Regions from separate parts of the Homo sapiens genome. Here region 1 is linked to region 2. The links are contacts of gene promoters, found by promoter capture Hi-C in human tissues and cell types (Jung and others, 2019). All regions are on one chromosome and are shown on one strand. Each heading gives the region's core, a stretch centred on a gene start or on the middle of the fragment in contact. The rest is flanking DNA. Distances are from core to core; before and after follow the strand shown. Region 1 overlaps NTM (neurotrimin). Region 2 holds the start of NTM (neurotrimin).

Region 1 (6,851 bases), core at 1,900-4,399, 220 kb after region 2:
TGAGGAAGCCCTGTGCAGAGACCCCTAACCTGTTAATGGTCATATGAGTGAGCTTGAGGCAGATCTGCTCCTCCTCCTAGGCAAGACTTTAGATGAGACCACAGCTCTGGCCCACAGACTGACTGTAACCTTAGGAGGAACCCTGAGCCAGAGGTACCCAGCAAAGCTCTTTCCAGATTTTTGACCCCAGAAACTGTGAGATAATAACAGTTTGTTGTTTTAGGCTGCTTTGTTTGTTACACAGCAACAGATAATTAATACAATGGGTTTTCTATAAGACTCTTTTCTCCTCTTAAGGTGCTTTAAAGAAAAAGACGGTAGGTTTTCAAAAAGAAAATGGACAAGCTTCAGCATGAAGAGACTGCTTTTTAAGTGTTTTCAACTCTTTGGAAAGAACAATCTATATCACTTATCTCACACTAACCGTTTCTGAACCTAGAGCAACTTCAGCTATTGAAAGAGGTATCAGGCAATCTACTATATCAAATTAATTTTAGTTAACTTAAAAAATAAGTGATGCTCAATTGGGAGGCTACGGAGCAAGCAGAAGTACTCAGAAAAGAGAAGGACACTAACCAGTACTAACTACACCCAGTCATTACTCCACGTGACTTGCATTGTATTATCTCATTTTATTTACCCATTCATGCTCTGGAGTGAGTTCTGTTATTATCTCCATTTTACAGATAAGGTAGCTAAGGCACAGAAAGTTTAATTACATTTCCCAATGTTGTATAGCTTTGATAGGCTGAGGTGGGCAGATCACGAGGTCAGGAGATCGAGACCATCCTGGATAACGTGGTGAAACCCCATCTCTACTGAAAATACAAAACATTAGCCAGGCATGGTGGCAGGTGCCTATAGTCCTAGCTACTCGGGAGGCTGAGGCAGGAGAATGGCATGAACCCAGGAGGTGGAGCTTGCAGTGAGCAGAGATCGCACCACTGCACTCTAGCCTGGGAGACGGAGCGAGACTCTGTCCAAAAAAAAAAAAATAGGCCTTACTTCGAAGTCCATACTCTTGACCACAAATTATTCTGCCTTACCATTTCAGACAAATTCAAATTATTAAATACAATCCCATTTTAGAACTCACAAATATTGGCTAATTGAAAAATTGATGAATAATATAGATGTAGAATGAAATTGATACTATATTATATATTTTTTAATTTTATCCTATATAGGCAAAGCTTATTTCACCAGTCATAACACACACCTGCATGAGTGGAATTGTATCTTAAATGCTCCACTGCACCCAGTCCAGGACTCTATTCTTTCATGACTGTGCATCAGAAACAACTGGAGGAAGTAAGTAAGACAGGGGCCAGCACAGAGAGAATTACAGTAGTTGACAGCATGAAAGAAGAGGTGGTCAGAGATCAAAACAAGTTCAGGGCTGGTGGAATACAAAGTGAGAGAGAGAAAAACCAAATCATCATCTTTAGGATGAGGCTGATGAGGAAGAGTGACCCATAGCTGAGCATCAAGTAAGCCAAGGTCACAGAAAGACAACTAGTAATAAAGCATGTGTGGAATGCTTGCTATGTGCCAGGCACTGTTCTAAATGATTGTCATGTATTGTCTCCTTTAATTTTACATCACCATATGAGGTGGTTACTAAAAGCGTCCCCATTTCACAGATGAAGAAACCGAGGCACAGATTATTGTTAACTCCCAGCCACAATTAGCAAATAAAAGGGTTAAGACACAATGAGAGATCTGCTGCAAGCTCACTCAAATGACTGTTGGCAGGTTTTGGTCCCTTGCCAAGCAGGCGTCTGCACAGGGCTTCCTCACAACATGGCAGCTGGCCACCCCCAGTGAGCAACCCAAGAGACAGTGAGAGCTTGCCCCAGAGCAAAGCCACAGGCTTTGTATAACTTAATTTTGAAAGTGACATCACATTATTTCCAAGATGGCCTGAAACAAAAATCCTTTCTCTTGACCACTACTGTAAATTTTCTTGGCAATGTAGTTTAAGTCAGTACTAGTGTGCCATGGTTATGAAGCAAATTTGAATTAAGGAATGGGGATATTTACCTTTTGCTATATTTTATAGATGCTGGATCTGGGTAGGGCAAGGACACAAAAACCAGTGATAGCCAGAGGGATTTGCCATCTTGGTAACTTGAGTCTACCTAGAACCAAAACAGACAATCAAAAGAAAAAGCCTGGAATAATTATTTAGTCCTGCTATAATTTTACTGAACATCATCAAATTTTTAACACTTGTAATCAACCTACTATGGGGAATGGCATCAGGCTAGTTGGGTATAGAAAACTACGTCAGACAAGGTCTCCATCTGCTTATGAAGACATTACATGTAAATATTAACTCTGGGCAATGTGTACTTATTGTTAAATGGGGTAAAGACATTAACTGCTTGATGATTCTGAGAGAACTCACTGTGAGCTCATGTGCTGTGATTTGGGTTTTGAACAAGAGAAAGAAAGAGAAATGGCATTAACAGGTGTGGCTCATGCAATGTGAAAGTGGAGGGTTTATATGGGAGAGTAGTGGAGCCTCACGCTGCAGAGGACTCATGCCTGAGCATGCTAGGGGAGAGGTTGGTCTTCGTCCTGTAGGTTGTGGGTGGACACTAAGGTTTGTGAGAAGACAGGTGGCATGATAAATTAGTATTTAAGTGAGATTAACACAGCAGTTATACAGGAAACCATGCCACTCTTAACCTGGAAAAATGTGTGTGTGTGTGTGTGTGTGTGTGTGTGTGTGTAGGCTCTGGTTGTAGTGGGAAGGCACGAGGCTAGAAGTCAGAAGACCCAGTTTCTTGTAAATATCTTACCATTAATAATACACATGAATTTAAGCAGGGCTTTTTTCTCTTCCCTGGGACACACATTCTTCATTATAAAGTGATGGGATTGGAGACTCTCCTAAAGTCCTCCCAGCACTAGCATTCTGGATTTTTCACACTGCCATCCCCCTCAATTAGTGCTGTAATTAAAAGCTGACTACACATCCATTCTCCATCCAGAAACTGCAGTCCAGGGCTTCCCACAGGAGCTTCTGCAGAGGCAAAACAACCCTGTCCTCTTCTTTCTTACACATGATGATGAAACCAAAGTGTTTTTCTCCCCTCTGGCTTATTTAACCCCAAATCATTATTTGTTTTTTTGTATCTTATGCCTTTCATGTCCTAGGTTTGAAGGTGATGTGTACATGGCAGAGAGACACCATCCCACCCCTTCCTCGTCACTTTTGTTGAAAAATGTTCCTGCATCCACACATACACACATGCGCACACACATGTGACACCAGGTCACTGCCTGGCCTCACTGCTGAGGAGATGAAAGCAAAGTTTCCAGGGCACTTATTGTGCCTCACCTGGTGTCCCTTAGCTGGAGGTGTGAGGCTTATATCAGGTAATACAGAGTGGAGGGCTCGATCCCCATATAAGTAGTACATTTCAGAAAGTAGCAAAGAATATTTCTTCTGCGCTAAAACCCAACAAAGCAGCAAGGGATACGCTCTTCCCCAGCCACATGCCAGGATCCTCCTAAATGCAGATATTCACCAAGGAACTGGAACGTTCTCACTCCAAGGCTGGAAAAATGACTCCCAGGATAATCTGTGGATGTAATTTGTCTTTCAGTCTATTTTGATCAATCTCTTCCCTGCACCCAGCCCTCGACCTTGCTGCTACTGGGAGGCTCATTCTCATGGAGACAGGGAGAACCTCTGTCCCCTCCCCAGTCAAAAGTCATCTGTGTCCTTTCTGTTTTTTAGAACCAGGACTGTCTGACAGCAGTGATGACCCTGGGGGCTTGTGTCATCATTCAATTCCCATGGTGGGGGAGCAGGTGGGAGCAGAGATACCTGAAGCACCCAGAAGTGAGTGGGTTTGCCCAAGAGCTGAGTGTTCATTAGACTGAAAACAGCAAACAGGTTGATACCAGAGGAGAAGAACCAAGCGACATGCTGGAAGCCCAAAGTAACAGCCTCAGAGTTTAAGAACAGGGGCAGAAAACAGTGCAAAGCAGATCCCAGAGATAGGGCCAGAGGAAGTGCACTGGACTGGTCTCTGGTGTCCAAGCAAAGTGCCAAGCCAGGTGTCCCCTGCACGACAAGAGGACAATTGGATGGCTTCTTAATGTCCCAATATCAGGCCACTGGCAGCATTTACAAGTTATTATAACAACAACATTCCTTCTTTGAATGCTTGCTCACGGCCAGACACTGTGTAAGGGCTTTAGAATACTATTAAAACTCATCTGCATGGCAATTGATGTGAAGGCTCTTTTCTCCATCTTGTAGGTGAGGTAACGGGCTTCCTAAGAGAACTTATGGGACTTGTCCAAGCTGTACTGTATAAATGGCCGATGTAAGGTTTAACCCAGGTCTGGCCCCAAATCCAATGCTCTTAATTACTGAACTTTGCTGTCCCCACACAACTCCAAAGGGATAGCATGCGAGTGGATACCCAGTCATCATTTGGGCAGTGCTCAGTGGCCCTGAAGTGAGGTGGGCTGGAGACAGGACTGCACTCCCAGGAGAAGGGCTCCGGGTAACCTGAGGTGACAGGAGCAGCAAGCAGGCTGGATGAACCAAATGAAATCCTTGGGCGTAGTTTCAGTGCATCCATTCTGGGAGAGTCAGCAGCACTGATTCAGCCAGAGCTTCAACTTCTTAGGGAAATTTCTTGCCAGCTCAGCTGTTAAGACTCAAATTCCTCACCTCCTCCCAGCCCCCACCGCAGGGTTCTCTGCTCGCTGCTCTCATCTTCCCCATGTCACTCACTCATCGCAGAACCAGAAGGCTCAGCCAGCACTGAAAGGTCCCTGGGGAAAGGGGGGCCCTCCTGGGGGGCCCAGATCTGTAACAAATGACTTCCCGCAGAGACAAGCTGTGCTGTGCTCAGAGGCCCTGCTGGGGAGGGACGAAGCCTCCCGTGGGCCTGCTTGGTCTATCTGCTGCTGACAGTCCATGGAGCTGAGCTGGGGGAGATGGAAGGGGGGCACACCCTGGCTCCCCACTGGGTTTAGGACCCAGCCTGCTGAGATTCGTCCCATCTGACAACCCTGCACGGAGATGCATGGATTCCCTGCCTAACAAGACTATCTACTGGTGAGCTGAGCTGGGTAGTTCCCAGCTCAAATGAGCCAAGGCTTGAGATTTGCTCCCCGAAAGGGTCACTGATAAAGAAAACCCCAACTCTGTTGCCTTCAGTGTGTCTTTCACCAGGTAGATAGGTTCTGTCAGTCACATGGAGGAAGCTTGAGAGTGTGGATGGCTCAGCCCTGCTCATCACAGCCACTGGGAAAATACCCAGAGCGCTAATGTGCCCAGCAGCAGGCACCAGCATGAATGGGAAGGGGGCAGTTCATTCACAGCTGAAATGCACTTCCCTGTGTCTAACCTGAATTCCTCCTGCTGCAAGGTAAACCTCCCTTCGTTTCTGATTTTATTAGAGAAACAGTTCTTGTGTTATGCTCTGGGTAAGAACTACTCAGTTGTTGGAAGCCCATCCCACAGCCTCACCTGCTGGAAATCAGTCACCTCTTCTTTTCCTCCCTTTATACAAATAGAGCACTTTTGCCCCTGGTTGGATAATGATGTTCCTCATAACAGGTTAAGTCAATGGTTAAGTCAGTGATGAGGGGTAGGAAACTATTTTTATTGGGCATCCACTACGCACTCACCCCACTTAATCCTATTTAACTTAGTATTTGTCAAAGGATCAGAGGAACAGCTCTGACTATGGGAGGCAGAATTACTGGGCTCTGCTAAAAAATGTGGTAGAGCATGCTGGGCCTTCAGGCCTAGACTGGAGTCCTCACACTGCTACTAACTGAGAAGCTTTGAGCATGTAACTTCACCTCTCTGAGACTCAATGTCCTCGTCTGCAAAATGGCTTTGAGCAGCAGCTATAGCCTTTTAACCTAAGATCCACGAAGTCTAGCCCAGGGCCTGGAAATCACACATGCTCAGTAATGACTTGTTTAGTAAACAGGGCAGTGCTTGAATGATTCTGGTACAGATCATTCAAATAACATATTTAAAATGCCTTACAAAGCTTGGCATATAATAGGTCTTTCAAAAAAAAAAAAAAAAAGCTAGTTTCTTTTGTCCTGCAGTAGTGATGAAAGCCAAACAACCACGACCTGAAATTTCCTCTCTCCTATTCACCTCCCCAACACAAATACACACACACACCCCAAACACACACACACACACACACACACACACACACACACACACCATAGTTCAAAGTTGACCTTTAGGGGCTGTTTCCTCCTCCTTCCCCACCACTGCTTGCTCCCTCTCTCTACCTGGTCTCCTTGCCAGCCCTGGCCTGCCACACTCCCCAAGCTGCAGTCCCCCAGGTCCCCTCTCCCTGGCCCCTGCCTCCCCACAATGCTGGGCTCAGAGCAGATGTGCAGCAGCCTGCCATCATCTCTGATGCTGCCCTTCCCTGCCAATCTCCGGCCACGTCTGGCAGCTGGAATTGCAGTTCTCCTTGTTTACAATGCATTGTAATTGCAGACACAGGCTATGCTGTCATTTGTAATTTTCTCTTGTCCTGTTCTCCCTGCACACTCCCTTGCCTAAGTGTCAAGCAGTTGCCCTTGTGAGTGGTACTATTGGCAGGAAATGTGCTCCAACATGCAGCAAAAAGCAAACTATTATTTATTTCTCATTCTCTCCCTCTCCACTCAATAGATGAAATAGGCAAAGAGCAGTCCTGTCCCTCCTGCAGCCCCCACCCATCCCTACACCTCTCCTTCCCCAGTGCCATTAGTTCCTCTAATTGCTAGGTCTCCTCTTTCAGTTTGGATTTTGCTTCAGGATGTCTGGAGATTACAGGGAGAATTGCCTTCCCTGCTAC
Region 2 (7,213 bases), core at 3,811-6,310:
AGCACTGCTCTTTAGATTTAAGCTCCCGCAGTTCTTTCCATAATAGCTGAGAGAAATAAAAAACACTGCCTCCACACCCCTTCCTCCCTCACTCACAGGCACACACACACCCACCTCCTCCTCCTCCTCATGGTGGCATTCTGTCTGCCAGTCCTTCAAGCCTGGCCCACCATGTGTGAGTGATTATGCATCCCCTCTCCTATGTCTGCTGTCAGGGTTCAGCTGGGATTTGGACAGCAGGGCAGCCAGGTCCCACAGTGAGCTTACTGGACTTATTGTCTATCGTTGGATAAGGTGACAGGTGTTCATGGGGGCAGTTTACAGAGAATCAATCCCTATTTGTACTAGCTCATTGCACACAGTGCAGATTCCTAAGCTGCCCGATGATGAAAGGTTTATGAAATGCAATCCTAGCTGCCCTCTCCAAAGGAGTTAAAGACCTCATCTGTTTCCCCTTTCTTATTTTTTTTTTTAATTTTTATGCCCCTTCCTTGTTTCTTATCTGCAAACAGAAAAATCATGTCTGTAGTAAAGTTCTTCTAACTTCAAGGAGTGTGGGTGGTGAAAAATTATCATTCTGTCTAGAATTTAAGGTCCCTTTCCAGACATTAATTTTGTCTTACGCCATTCATACTCCTCTGCAAAAAAAGTGGACTCATGAACTGGGAAGTAAATGGTGCATAACACAAATCTGGCTAATGCAAAAGGCAAAGTGAGTCCTCCAGGCACCTGATGAGAAGTACTTGAGCCTTCTAACTCAGAGGAAGGAGCTCTGATTGTTGAGGAGGGAACTGCGATTTCAAAGTGTCCCCTTCCAATCATAGCTCCCCCCAGTCATAGCTTCCCCCAGTCAGAGGTTCTTTAGTCATTGGCTCACTTCTACTGGCAGAAATCTCTAACCACAGTCACGAGCCACCCCAAAGCAGAAGGACCAAGCTGTGCATTCTTTGGGGTAGTTGCAACAATGGAGATTCTCAGTCCTAAGCCTGATAGATCCTGAGACTAGAATGGAAAATGGAAAGGAAGTTTGCTGACAGCATTGGTGAGACCGGTTCCATTAGGCAAGAGATGTGCTTGGTTGAATGAAACCCTTCTGTGTGTAGCCTAGGATCAGCTTTTTCGATTTGTAATTACAGCAATGAGCAGCTGACTGATCCAACACGCCTGTATTGGTGATGCTGTGTTAAACCCAATAACAAAGGAGGGAAAAAGATGCCTTCTCTAGAAGGAGGTTAATGGTGTGCTTTTGTGAAACCTGAAGGCCATTGGGAAATTTTACTTCATGTGGCAAATTCAAGCATTGAAAGAGCTATAGCTCTCAAGATAGTTTAGCATTTAGCAGTGTTCAGAACCCAAATTAGACTTCTGGTTCGGCAATCCCTGAGGATATATTTTGCCTCAATGAATGCACAGAGCATAATGCTGAAACTGCTCTGTCCAGGAGTCTTAGTTCCCAAGCACAGATAGCTTCTACCAATGACACATGGTAGACCACATCCATCTCAACTTGGTTAAAAACAGTAAAATTAATGAAAATTAGTTGATGGTTAGGATGTCTGGCTATGGTTGGGATGGGGGTGTAATTGCTATCCTGTTTCAGATGTGGAGTTGAAATGACTCAACCTAATCTCACAGCCCCTAGGGGACAGAACTGGGATTTGGACCCCAAGCAAAGCAGCCCTAAGTCCGTGCTCTCATTCAACAAGTCATGTCAGTGACGCCCAGTGTCTGTGCCTGCCAGGTACCAGACATGGTTACCTCACCTGTGTGCAGAAAGTAACTGCCAAGCATCATATTATGCTAAGGTTCATTTAAAAAATATTTTCAAGCTCTTCTTGCTATACAGAATGGTAGGATGGGGAATCTCAGACAAGTCACTAGAACCTCAAATATACTTGGTGTATTTCTAACTCTAGTTTTTAATTCATGGTATTCTCATCCAGCAACGTCCTTCCCTCTGCCTCAGATCTAGGATCAGAGTCACTCTCACGGTATTCATGACTCCCACCGTCTCCAAAGAACTTTACAAAACTATCATAGAAAATGACCACCTATTGTGTGCTGTCTGATGAAATTAATTATATGTACCAACCATTGGAAACTCAGTTAAGATTGAAAGCAGTATATGAGTCTTCCTGTAGTTTTGTATCAACATATGTATTGTTTTGTAATGTTTATTAATAATCTCATATGCTATTGAAAGCAACAAAAAGATTCTACGCTAGGATGCTTGATATCTATTTGAGTCCCTCACAGTATTTAGCACAGGATATTATTATTGAAGTTGATCTAAGATGAAAATGCTCAGGTTTAAATCCTGATTCCATTCCTTAACTGTTGTGTGGCTGTGGACAAGCTTTTTCTGAGCCTCAATGCCCTCATTTATAAAATGGGGATGATAATATCACCACTTCATAGGTTGTGATTATTTAATGAGAAAAATGCATGCAAAACACTGAGTATCATGTCTAGCACATTGCAAATAAATATCAATAAATATCAACTCCGATGATTAATTTCTTATTATCTGTACACACCTGGGAGCTTAATAAACATTGGTAACTGTATAGATTTATTACAGTTCAGGGTAAGGACATTTACAAATGTTATTGTCCACCTCTCCTGATTGGGACTAAAGACTTACCAGTGGCCCATGATCTTTATCATCGTTCTGGAGAGAAATGAAATGGTGGTGAAAGGAAGCCACCTTCCTTCTGCACTGCACTGTTATCACCTGCCGTCACAGTTGTTCCAAAGCATTTAATTACACATGTCACTATGCTGAGCACCGCACAAAAAGACTCATCTACAGATAAAATTCTTGTCCATTGGGAGCTCACGATATCAAGGACATTTTGATAGATATGTGAATTAGAACTTAATGGCAAGAAGAAAAAAAATACCAGTTAACATAAAACATCTTTAAAATGAGAAGGAGTATAATAAATTATTCCAGTTCTACAATTTTATAGACAAGAAGCCAAGGTTCACAGAGGTGAAAGGACCTGCCTGAGGTCCCTTAGTTGTGCAGAACTATGAGAAGGATCTTGAGGTCCCCAGATCTTGAGGTCCCAGGGCCCCTTCCTCTCAAGGTCACAAGATCCCACATTCCAGGCAGTGTTGTCCCTATTCATACACAACACAAGGTAAACTTGTGGGAGGCCAAGGCTGGAAGGACTGCTTGAGGCAAGGAGTTTGAAACCAGCCTGAGCAACATAGTGAGACTTCATCTCTACTATGTTGTAGAAAATTAAAAAAAAAAAAAAAATAGCTGGGCATAGTGGGTAAGGCAGGAGGGTTCCTTGAGCCCAGGAGTTCAAAGTTGCGGTGAGCTGTGATTGCACCACTGCACTCCAACCTGGGTGACGGGGCAAGAGTCTGTCAAAAACAAAAACAAAAAAGAAAGAAAAAAGAAAAAAGCCAAGGTAAATCGTACGTCTTAGACATGTGCAAAATGGCAGTGATGTTTTCATTTCACCTCTGTACACTAAAATACAAACAGACAATGAGTACTTTTCTTCTATGCAGTTTGAAAATACATGAACATTTTTATGGGGTTACAAGGAAGTATAATAATTAGCGGTGGAGTTCTAGAAGAATATTTTTAAAATGTGTGTCAAGGCATAGTAGGGGTATGAATGTGTCAGAATTAGCTAAGGAAGGTTCTGTGAGAAACTACATTTTCTTTTTCTTTTCTTTTTTTTTTTTTTTTTTCTTGAGACAGGGGCTGGCTCTGTCACCCAGACTGGATTGTAGTGGCGCCATCTTGGCTTACTGTGATCTCCGCCTCCCAGGCTCAAGCAATTCTCCTGCCTCAGCCACCCAAGTGGCTGGAACCACGGGTGCGCACCACCAAACCCAGATATTTTTAAGGAATTTTTTAGTAGAGATAGGGTTTCACCATGTTGCCCAGGCTGGTCTCGAATTCCTGAGCTCAGGCTACTGGCCTTCCTTGGCCTCCCAAAGTTGTGGGATTACAGGCGTGAGCCACAGTGCCCAGCCAGGAGCTACATTTTCTAGATTTTTTGTTCACATCCTCTAACTTGCTTCTCATAAGGGGAAGCCAAAGATTAGAATAAACTTCCAGGCCCTAGAATTAGACCTCTTAAGAAATCATTTATGTCCATTAGATTATTTCTGTTCGGTTTTTATTCTTTCCTATCACCAAGGAGGTTAATGTCTTCAACTGTCTGAGGAACTACACAAAGTTTACACTCAGAAAGCCCCTCCGCATGTCTACCCTGAATCTTTCTCGCTGCAGTTTAAATCACAGATGCTTCTATGATTGCTTTAGTGGATGTGGATTGACCAAGTCATGGGGAATAAACTCCTGCTTTGTTTTCTTTTGAAGAAGGTTCTCCATCTTCAGACTATAGAGCTTCTTCTCAAATACCAGGTACTTTGTACCTTTCCATTGTATCATATACACATGGATGAATTTAGGAAATTGACTTCTAAAAAGTGAATGAAAAAGAGGAGTAACATAGATGTTCTGAAACAGAAGTGACAGGAGGAGAAAATAGAAAGTTATTTACTATTTTCAAAGCAACTAAGTAGAAAGGTTGATGAAAGAGAGAAAAAAAAGCTGTCACTGAATGATATTTCCATTGGAGGGGAAAATAGGTACCAACAAATGAAAATTGCCTCATCTTTACAAGTTTCACTGAGCATGAAAATGTCCCTTTAAAATTTCCCATAAGCCATGGCTGGCTATGGGATTTTTCCAGTGCAAAGGGAATCTGAGTTCAGGAGGCCAGGGAATGCCAGGGGGAAAGGGATTTTCTGATACTCAGAAGACTCAGAGACTGTCAGTTTAAAAAATGAAAGTAATATAGAAGGGGCAAAGTGGCATTTATCATTCTATCTCTCCAGGCTCCTGTCTCTTTAATCAGCTAGCCTGATTTGCCCAGTAAATGATTCCTGAGAGTGTGTGTGCGTGTGTGTGTGTGTGTGTGCCCGCGCGCGTGTGTTGTAGCTCTGTCAATCCTTGGATTAGAACCAATGATTGCAGCTTGTAGGAGGGCTGTCCAGGGCCAGATTGTACAATGTGTCTCAGTGCCAGAGTATGAGTGGAGATAATTACGGAGAAGTCATACTCTCTCACACCCTCGGCTTTCTTGTTGTGTCCTTCAGCAAAACAGTGGATTTAAATCTCCTTGCACAAGCTTGAGAGCAACACAATCTATCAGGAAAGAAAGAAAGAAAAAAACCGAACCTGACAAAAAAGAAGAAAAAGAAGAAGAAAAAAAATCATGAAAACCATCCAGCCAAAAATGCACAATTCTATCTCTTGGGCAATCTTCACGGGGCTGGCTGCTCTGTGTCTCTTCCAAGGTAAGAGCTTGCTATTGATTTGCCTTCGGTAGACCCAGGAATTGTACAGTGTGCTTTATAAGATTTGCAGACTCCCCGAGTCGGCTGTGCTGCGCTGTTTGCAGGTGGAGGAGAGAGCGTTTAGACAGCATGGCTGGGACTTCATTCTCCCGACTAGGCTGTGAGAATATTGATTTGATTCTGGCTGCTACCGGAATGGGGGAATATGTATGTGCATAAGTAAAATGTGTTTGGTGCTCCTGTTAGGACTGTGCTTGTGTGCAAGGCTCCCTGGCTTCATGCACATTCTTGCACACATACACAACGGAGCACACATGTAAGCAGGGGGAAATGACAGATTCGGAGGGCAACAGGGTTGCTAATGTGTTGCTTATGCGACTGGGAAGAAATTACAAGAGGAAACTTTAAATATCGGCCAGCGAACTTGCAAAGCTTTTAAAAGGAGCAAAGGGGAAAATGCAGGCTAGAAAGAATCAGGTGCTTCCTGTGAGGTTCTGGTCAGCGATCCAGCTGCAAGGGATGAGTCAATTTGCAGCAGTGGGGGACAACTGTATTAGTTTTAAATGTGTTCGGGGGTGTGTTTGTGGCTGGGGTCGGAGGTGTGGAAGCGAGGGGAGCCGGGGCTCTGAAATTCTAAAAAGCTTTTCGAAGTTGAAGGGAGAGAGGCAATAAGAGTCGAATGCTAATTTTCTGTTTATTTATCGGCTGAGCCGGGAGCCCTGGGGGCTGCAGTTGAGTGCAAGCTTTGATGTCCCCAGTGCTGTGTTCTGTGCATTTGGAATCGGCCTCCACCTTGAGTCCATTTGCTGCACCGTGCCTCCCCACACCCCATCCCGGCTCTCACGTCTGTTCGTTCCAGCAACAGAATTATCCACTAATCTTCTTGCTCCCACCTGCCCTGTCCTTTGGGGTAACTAGTTTGCCTCTTTTATATTAAACACAGCTAAAACTCGTAAGGATCGAGACAAGCTGAGAAACTTTCCCAGGGTGGCCCAGCAGGGCTCCGGGAGGAGGAGCCCTCTCTTGGGAGGTGAGGCTCAGTCCTATGCAGTTGTATTCCCAGAGGAAAGTTCCCTCTGACCCGGTGAAAAACGATGGGGAGTCCCACCCCCTCGCCCTCTTCTCCCCCTGCAATATGGAGTTCTCCTGATCTGGACTGAGTCCTGAGCTGTAGTCCTGCTGGCTCTTCTCCGAGGTTAGGATTTAGGGATTGCTGCTGTCCTCTTGACATAGGTTGCAGTGGCTGCAGTGTGGATCCACGTAAGGTGGGCAGAGAGACCAGGCTGGAAGGATCAAATGTGTACACCCTTGACTGGGGCTCGATGAAGAAGGCAAGGGGTGGGGACAGGAGGGATCTGTGTCGGGTGATAAGGAAGTCCAAGGTGGTGAATCTTGCAGGGATGTCCATGATGTCGTCTGCTGCACCCAACCCCAGGAGGCATGGGCCTCAGGATTCCCTGCTGTCCCCTAGGGGCTTTGGTGGGTGTTTGAGTGAAGGGAATCAACTTGGAGGCATCCTCGATTGACTCCTCTTATATAATATGAAGCAGTATCAGTGTGTGTGTGTGTGCGTGCGTGTGTGTGCACCCCTGCTTGTTCTGGGTGCACAAGAATGAAGTGGGGAAGCTGAGTTCAGGATCGGGCAGTTTCGGAAAAGCAGTTTCTGTGGGGGTTGACAGCAAAAATGAAAACTAAGCAGGCAAGGGGTAGGGTGAGGGGTCAGAGGTAGGGAGAGGGAAGGTCCCAAGCCCTCAGTCATTTCTATCTGTCCCGAGATCCATGTCTCTTCTGCCTGTAACATCAAACTGGAGACAATGACCAAACTTCCACCATCAACAGCCCTGCTGGCTGCATGCCAGGAGCCCCAGGGCCATACTGA

What was found. The method cuts DNA at HindIII sites, captures the fragments that hold promoters and counts their contacts. A contact is called where the count stands out against the background at its distance.
Region 1: a contact is called between a fragment that was not itself captured here and the fragment with the promoter of NTM in region 2, in 2 of the 25 tissues and cell types used here (dorsolateral prefrontal cortex and hippocampus).

Annotation. Positions count from the first base shown.
Region 1 is chr11:131,586,465-131,593,315 of GRCh38, forward strand. All of the region lies in intron 1 of NTM (neurotrimin), which reads left to right. Among named protein-coding and RNA genes, the nearest start is that of NTM-AS2, 49 kb to the left of the region's middle. The HindIII fragment of the contact is 4,760 bases long and covers 770-5,529 here.
Region 2 is chr11:131,365,555-131,372,767 of GRCh38, forward strand. It overlaps NTM (neurotrimin), which reads left to right and starts at 5,061. Exons shown (of 9, transcript NM_001352005.2): 1 at 5,061-5,334. The coding sequence starts at 5,253. The HindIII fragment of the contact is 4,341 bases long and covers 1,125-5,465 here.